Regions from separate parts of the Homo sapiens genome. Here region 1 is linked to region 2. Evidence: promoter capture Hi-C in human tissues and cell types (Jung and others, 2019). All regions are on one chromosome and are shown on one strand. The core of a region is centred on a gene start or on the middle of the fragment in contact, and the rest is flanking DNA. Distances in the headings are between cores, read along the strand shown.

What was found. Contacts are between HindIII fragments. The study calls those that stand out against the background at their distance.
Region 1: a fragment that was not itself captured here is called in contact with the fragment with the promoter of SMKR1 in region 2 in 1 of the 25 tissues and cell types used here (bladder).

What each region holds. Positions count from the first base shown.
Region 1 is chr7:129,366,067-129,370,302 of GRCh38, forward strand. All of the region lies in intron 1 of AHCYL2 (adenosylhomocysteinase like 2), which reads left to right. LOC107986847 (a long non-coding RNA gene) reads right to left here. Exons shown (of 3, transcript XR_007060518.1): 3 at 1,958-2,828. Among named protein-coding and RNA genes, the nearest start is that of STRIP2, 66 kb to the right of the region's middle. The HindIII fragment of the contact is 5,247 bases long and covers 1-3,978 here.
Region 2 is chr7:129,501,224-129,505,339 of GRCh38, forward strand. It overlaps SMKR1 (small lysine rich protein 1), which reads left to right and starts at 1,308. Exons shown (of 2, transcript NM_001195243.2): 1 at 1,308-1,604. The coding sequence starts at 1,602. RefSeq lists silencers at 1,007-1,056, 1,117-1,456. The HindIII fragment of the contact is 29,122 bases long and covers 1-4,116 here.

The DNA.
Region 1 (4,236 bases), core at 105-2,604, 140 kb before region 2:
TCAGAGTTGACACTCTGACTTCAGTGGGCCTTATTTTCCCTGCATCTCATCACCCTGTGTCCTGACATCACTCAAGTCGCCTCAACTCCATAGCTCCTCTATGACCACAGCTTCCTTTACTTCTACCTCTGCTGTTCTTATTTCGCCTGCTCTCCACCCTCCCTGTGATCCCTTGATACGTCTGAATGCACCTGGTTCAACAGTCCCTGTTTTCACCTGCCTTTCTCTCCAGTCAAACCTCTGGCCATTCATTTGAATTCTGCCCTCTCTGGCATCTTACAGTACCTCTTCCATAGATATTACCTTCCTCTCCTCCATTCCAAATCCAAAGGACCATTCTCTTAAGTAATGAAGGCCTTACAGGGTGATGAACTGTGAACCCCAAACATCTGAGACAGGTCTCGGTTAATTTAGAAAGTATTTTGCCAAGGTTGGCCAGGCGTGCTGGCTCATGCCTGTAGTCCCAGCACTTTGGGAGGCTGAGGCAGGTGGATCACCTGAGGTCAGGAGTTTGAGACCAGCCTCAACATGGCGAAACCCTGTCTACTAAAAATACAAAGTTAGCCGGGCGTGGTGGTGCATGCCTGTAATCCCAGCTACTCGGGAGGCTGAGGCAGGAGAATTGCTTGAACCTGGGAGGCAGAGGTTGCGGTGAGCCGAGATCACGCCATTGCACTCCAGCCTGGGCAACAAGAGCAAAACTCTGTCTCAAAAAAAAAAAAAAAAGTTTATAGAAAGTTTATTTTGCCAAGATTGAGGATGTGCACTCATGACACAGCCTCAGGAGGTCCTGATGACATGTGCCCAAGGTGGTCAGAACACAGTTTGGTTTTATACATTTTAAGGGGACATGAGACATCAATCAACATATGTATGATGAACACTGGTTCAGTTTGGAAAGGCGAGACATCTGGAAGCAGGGAGGGGGCTTCCAGGTCATGGGTAGATAAGAGACAAATGGTTGCATTCTTTTGAGTTTTTGATTGGCCTCTTCAAAGTAGGCAATCAGATGTGCATTTATCTCAGTGAGCAGAGGGGTGATTTTGAATAGAATCGGAGGCAGGTTTGCCCTAAGCAGTTCCAGCTTGACTTTTCCCTTTGGCTTAGTGATTTTGGGGGCCCAAGATGTTTTCCTTTCACAGAGCCTATAATCATAATTATAATATTGTCACTGTTAGCTGTAGAGAAACTATCCTCTTCAATGGGAATTAACACTGTAAAGAGTCCTGGTCCTTAAAGGGACCAAAGCAGGCATATCTTGTTAGGCTTCCTTTGTGCCTGAAACCTGTGGTACTCTTATTGGATAATATACTCTAGGAATGAACTAAGCAGGTGAGATAGGCTAGCTTACCTTTTTTCTAGTTATGTCTTATTTCCAAAATTCTGAAGTGTGCAGCAAGGAGGGAGTTGGTATGGAGAGATAAAGCAGAAACAACTTCGGAGGTCCTTTAAGGTGATAGTGTACAGGGCTACTGCACTGGCATCCTGTTTCTTCCTGAAACCAGATCTGTGTGTAAAATCCAGCATTGGTTAGGGACTTTGAGGCAGCACTAGTCTTGGTTGGAAACCCTGGCTGTCCTCTAAACCTACACTGTGGTGGCTTCTGACTAGCCTCAGTGAAGTCACTTTGCAATCAGCACCTGTGTGTCTGTAGCTGCGGGCCCTGAGGCCTTCGTGTATGTAGCACAGGGAGCCAGCAGAGGGAGCTGTCGTCCCAGAACTTTCTTAGAGCTGCTAAGAAATTCTGATTTTGAAAAAGATCTTCCTAGGCTCCATCCGAACCTCCCATGCAATAAGACTCTAACTTGAGATATGCGAGAGTTTGGTGCCAGACCCCTGGTGTGAGCAGATGGGGAGCTTCTGCATAGCTGTTTAAACTTGAAAGCCCTAGGAGCTCTTGATTTCAAGGAAACGCCTGTTTACTGATCCAAATCAAGCAACTCTTGAGAAATGGGAGTGCCTTCCTGACCTCAGTCTTTATTGATCTTGGTATCCGCACCTCCAGTGACGTGTCCTGAAGGGTGGGAGAGAATTCACAAGTGCCTCACACACAGGGAAAGAAGGAAGTCCAACTATTGCTGCAGAAAGTCCCCACTGGGGAGGTGCGGGTAGAGTGTTTGGGTAGCATTAAAACAGTGAGTGCCCTGTGAGAAGCACAGTGCCTGGGTGCAGCACTTTGCATCAGCTCTGATTTTGAAATCAGACACAGAAGGCTTTGAAGCCGGCCAGTAAGGGGTTGTCAGGCAGTTGACTAATGCTCTTGATTTGAATCGGAGGCTGCTGTGAAAAGGGATGCAGCTTCTGCTAGCCACTGTGAACTTCTGAATCTCACTAGGGTTGGGTCTGCTTTGGGGCACTCAGATAACCCCAGTATTTCCAAACCAGCTTTCCCTTTTGCTTCAGGACATATCTTACCCAAGCCTGCACTATGGAGAAGTGGGACGGTAATGAGGGCACCTCAGCTTTTCACATGCCTGAGTGGATGGTGAGTTCACTGGTCGTTTTGTTTCTCCTTCTGTTTCTTGATAATGAGAGGCAACCATTTCTGACGGGTGACAAGGATCACCTCTGAGAAGCTCCTACCAAGATCCGTGGTTGGAAAAACAGTTATTACTCTACGTTCTGATTAGTTCCTAGGTACTAGGTCACCACTGTTTCTTAATTATCCACGAAGCTGGGAAAGGTGTGAGAGTTGCCTGGCCAGGGCTTGTTGCCTGGTCATCTCTGGTGGGCAGGGGCTTTCCTCCGGCTGCTGGTGTGATGTATGGGTTGTGTTTCCTGTGACTGTTTTGCACTTCTGTTTTCAACCTGATGCTTCATTTGTTTCTCTGGGGGTAAAGAAAAAGAACAATGAGGAGAAAAAACAAAAACAGAACTTACAGAAATGGTGCTCTCTGAAGTCTGCAAAGATTGCAAACATTTCTCCCCTCCCTGCCCGTATTTTTCCCTTCAGTCACAACATTTCCCTATTTCCCCCCCAGCTATCCTTTATATATATATTTCTCTATGGCAGGAACTGCAGCTCTCTTGGTACAGTTCTTCAGAATACCATGTTTGCCTGATCAGTAGTTTTACTAAAATGATAATAAGGACTTATTTGTTGATAAGAACTAGCATATAAACCTATTATATTGGATCGAATTTCAACTTTTAAAGACAATAACCATCCTTATGTTTCTAAATAGTTTCTTCTAGATTTAGCCTGATTTCTTACAGCCCACACAGGTTTATGTTTACAGATTTGTGTTTCCCCACTATGGAAAACTAGTTAGACTCTCTAAAACATATTTCAAGTTCTTTTTAGTGTTTATAGAATTATGGATTTGAAGAAATAACTATTGATAATGAGATAGAATATATAGTAGGCCTAACAAAGGCCCCCTGAGGAACTTACATTTCAACTCATTGTTACAACTATTTTTTATTGTTTTGGGGGAGGTTATTGCTGTTCTTCTTAATGTCGTTTCAGAACATTGTGTTCAGGTTTTTTTTTTTTTTTTTTTTGAAATGGAGTCTGGCTCTGTTGTCCAGGCTGGAGTGCAGTGGCGTGATCTCAGCTCACTGCAACCTCCGCTTCCTGGGTTCAAGTGATTCTCCTGTCTCAGCCTCCCAAGTAGCTGGGATTACAGGTGTGCACCACCATACCGGGTAATTTTTGTATTTTTGGTGGAGATGGGGTTTCACCATGTTGGCCAGGCTGGTCTTGAACTCCTGACCGTAGGTGATCCACCCAACTCGGCCTCCCACAGTGCTGGGATTACAGGTGTGAGCCACCACGCTCAGTCTTGTGTTCAATTTTAAAACATTTTGTGGAAAGAAAACCTATCCATCTACAAGCTTATTCCAAGTAACATAGTGTTTTAGAATTAATGGAAGGATTTATGTAATACTTCTGATTGGGTTGAGTTTTTTTGAATTTCTTGCTACTCACTAATAACAAGAAGAGGGAAAAAGAAATTTGGTTTTCTTAAGGGAAGGGCCACGTTAAGGTATCAAACTTTGGTATTTCTATAAAGGAATATTACAGAAGAATTCTACTGAACATTAGTGTGCCAACTCAGAATCAATCAAAGTTTTATAATAATTCTTATTTCTGTCATAGTCCTCACCGTCTTACAAGCTTAGCACATCCCCTCAAAGTTCAGTAGTGGCTCCTGCTGAACTTTCACCCATTTACCTTCTTTCTAGTTAATGTGAATGGGAAGACTGCCCTAAAGGAGTTGGTGTGACCACTGC
Region 2 (4,116 bases), core at 58-2,557:
CCACATCCTTGCAGAGCCTTCCAGGACCCTACTCCTGCTTCTTGGTCTAGCCTCCTCCCCCTGTCCCTAATTTTGGCATAATTGACTGCTCCTTGTCATCCAGATCTGTTTTAACGTCACCTCCTCAGAGAGGCCTTCCCCAGTCACCAATCTAAAAGAGCACCCAGTGGTCACATCAATTTAATGCAATATGCCATACTGTCCCTATCACTTTTAATGTCTGCCAGGCCCTCCATTTCAGCCACGACCACCTCCCCCAAATCACCCCTTAAAAGAACAAGGACTTTGCCTCATTCAGAGCTCAATTTCCAGGGCCTGGAAGAGTGTCAGGCACGTGGCAGATGCTCAATAACTGTTGAATAAAAAGGAATGATAGGCCGGGCAGTGGCTCACGTCTGTAATCCCAGCACTTTGGGAGGCTGAGGCGGGCAGATCACCTGAGGTCAGAAGTTCGAGACCAGCGTGACCAACATGGCGAAACCCCATCTCTACTAAAAATACAAAAATTAGCCGGGCATAGTGGTACGCATCTGTAATCCCAGCTACTCAAGAGGCTGAGGCAGGAGAATGGTTTAAACTTGGGAGGCGGAGGTTGCAGTGAACCGAGATGGCGCCACTGCACTCCAACCTGGGCGACAGAGAGAGACTCGGTCTCAAAAAAAAAAAAAAGGAATGACCAGTCATAAAAAAGAATGAGTCGTACCACCCGAAGTGTAGACTTCACCTGCAGGGAGGGAGGCTGGAACTGGCAAGGTTGGAGGCAAAACTGTACCTACTGTACCTTTCTCGCCCAATCCTACCTGCACATGAACTCCCTCCCCACCCCTTTAGTCTCTCGGGCCCTTACTCTCTTTATCCGGCTCTTTTGCAAACATTTCCCATGATATTCTCCCTTCACCGTCACAGTCCTTATGCTCGTTTCCCAAAAGAGCTTCTCCGATGATCTCTCCCAGGTTGGCCGAGTGAGCGGGCCTAGCCTGCGCTCTCACCCCAGTGCCACCCCAGTGGGAGCGCCGCCCGCGCCCGCCCCCTCGCCCCGCGCCCGCCCCCTCGCCCCGCGCCCGCCCCCTCGCCCCGCGCCCGCCGCTCCGGCAGCCCAAACCCAGACGCTAAAGCGCCGAACTGGGTTTCCGGGCGCTGGAGGCCGCGGTCGGCCTCGTACTAGGTGACGGCCCATCCCGCGCGCGCAAGCCCGGAACCCCGCTCCGCTCACCCTCCGCGCGCTGCCGCTTTGCCCTGGCAACGGTAACCACGGCGAGGCCCTGCCCCACGCCCGGTGATTGTGCGCGCGGCCCCGCCCCCGAGGCGCACGCCGGCCCAGCGCCCACAGCTGCGGCGGCCTAGGTGCCGCGTGGGGCAAGCAGGTGCCTCGCGTCCAGGCGGCTCCGCGGCTGGCTGCCTCCCGAGCCGGCCGCGCTCCTCCCAGCGAGGCGTGGCGGGGAGGCGTAGTGAGGCTGGGCCCGTGGCGGTTCCCTGAGGAGGGCCGAGAAGGGGCCGGGGGTGCTAGGGGAACGGGCGCTGGGGGCAGCGGCCCCGGTGGATGCTAAGGGCTTCGGGATCGGGAGAGTCCACCACGCCTGCCTGCTCGGCTGAGAATCGCCATGGTAATCCCCGTCTCCCTAAAGTACCCGGGGCCAGGGCGCGCGCCGTGGAGCCCCAGGCTGTCCCGGAGAGGCGCGGGCGCCGAGGTCACCGCCTCTCCCTGGGGTCGACCTCAACGCGTGGCGAAAAGATGGAGGGACAAGGGGTGCCCGGCGGTCCGCGCCTGCTGGGGGCGCAGCAGCCGCGGAGTCAGGCCAGCCGTCTTTCCAGGTTTTAGGTCGTGGTCCTGTTGAGCAGCCCCCACACCCAGACGGTTGATGTGGAAAATAAAGGGAGGGTGGCACCGTGGTGTGGCACGTCAGGGCGCCAGGCCATGCCCACAGTGACGGGTCCGAGCTGTTAGCTGCCGTAGCCACCCTGGGTGCCCGCGCGGGATTCTCCACTGCTCTGCAGACTCAGGAAGCAGAGAGTGAGCCTGGTACCACCACCTTGCTGTCAACAGCATTCCTGTTCTCAGCCCTCATCCAGTCACTTACGACCTCCTTCCAACCCTCGCTGCTCTTTCCAGAAGGGCTGTGACCTTCCAGCCCCTGCCCCAAGTCCTCAGGGAGGCATCATTGTCTGCTAAACTAAGTACTGCACGCTTGAGCTGGGCGCACAGAGCCCTTGCTAAAGGGGCCTCAACCTCGAGCTTTCTCTGCCATATCTTCTCTGCTAAACAACAACAAACAAAACGAACAAAAACCCTGCATCCCACACTAAACCCGCGTTCTTCTGGAAGCCCCTTGCGCCTTCCCTGTCTTGATCCGTTTTCTTTGAGGCTTGGATCAGAAGGACCCTGCCTCCTGCTTCCCCATCGCTCCTTCAGCGCCCACAGCCCTTTGCACCTCACCTCTGGTGCTTTGCCTGTTTTTCCTTGGAAAGCCTTATTCCTCATTAGACTCTAGTGTAGAAATCATTAAGTTTCTGTGTTCTTTCCAGTTTGTTTCGTGTAAAAGGATTAAGTAAAAATTTCTTGGTTTGAGAGTCATTCCATGAGCTATTAAAGGTAAAGAGCTATTACCTTTTTTTTTTTTTTTTTTGACAGGGTCTTACTTTGTCACACAGGCTGGAGTACAGTGGTGTGATCACAGCTGACTGCAGCCTCCATCTCTGAGGCTCAAGTGATCCTCCCGCCTCAGCCTCCCAAGTAGCTCGGACCGTAGGCAGGCATCACCATGCCTGGCTAATCTCTGTATTTTTAGTAGAGACAGGGTTTCGCCATGTTGCCCAGGCTGGTCTCAAACGCCTGGGCTCAAGGGATCCGCCCGCCTTGGCCTCTCAAATTGCTGGGATTACAGGTGTGAGCCACTGTGCCCAGCCAACTGCCATTTCTTTCAGGGCCCAGGGAACTGAGGCAGAATGCTGTACATAGCCATTGAAGCAAATGCCAGTTAATTCATGCTCCTTGAATGAGGGTCAAACACATTAGTGCACAGAGCCTGCAAGCCAGAGCGGAACCTTGCCTACCTTTCCTTCCTTAGCTGCTCTCACTGGCCCCCTTGGCTGCCTGTGGGCTGGCCATGTTGGCCTTTTTTGGGTTTCCGTCTCTTTGTGCACCTTCTCTCCGGCTTCAGAGACTTTGCATAGGCTGTTGGTCTTGGAATTCCCTACTCTCGGCCCACAGGCCACGCTTAGGGAGCCCTTCCTTTGATGGCCCAGATGAGGTCAGCCCTTGCCCATCTTGTGCTATTATAATTCCATGTGTTATAGGCATTATAGGGTCTTTCTTTATTAATTTCTTTGTTTTTGTTTTTTTTTTTTTAGAGATAGGGTTTTGCTTTGTTGCCCAGGCTGGAGTGCGATGGCATCATACATAGCTCACTTTGGCCTTGAATTCCTGGGCTCAAGGGGTCCTCCCACCTCAGCAGCCTGAGTACTGGGGACTACAGGTGTGTGCCACTGAGCCCAGCTAATTTTTTAAATTTTTGTAGAGACCGGATTTTGCCATCTTTCCCAGACTGGTCTCAAACTGGGTGCAAGTGATCCACCTGCCTCGGCCTCCCAGAGTGCCGGGATTACAGGTGTGAACCACCATGCCTGGCCAATAGGGCCCTTTCTTCACAGCATGGGTCGTGAGTAAATGCATTTGTGATTAGGTGACTAGTGTCTTCCTCAGACCTCACTGGACTGTAAGCATCGTGAGATCTCCTTTGCTCCCCATCTAATACAGGGCCTGGGACACAGTAGATTTTTGTTAAATACTTGTTGAATGAATGAAGGAGGCATCTTAAAATTCAGAAAAGCAGAAATCCACATTTGCTTTCTAAATCCTGTTATTGCATTGCATCTCAGTTGTGATGTATTCATTCACTCAGCAGATATTTATGCATCCTTGCAGTGTGGCAGATATTGGTGTAGGCTGGGGAATTCAGTGGTAAATTTATAGACAGAATCTCTGGTGAGGGAAACAAACAATAAACATAAACAACAATTACTATTAACTAGTGAAAAGTGGTGCGGGGAAGGAGATGGACAGTGACTCTACTGGGGTTGCTGGGAGACTGTTAAAGACAGACCACTGTACTTCCCCCT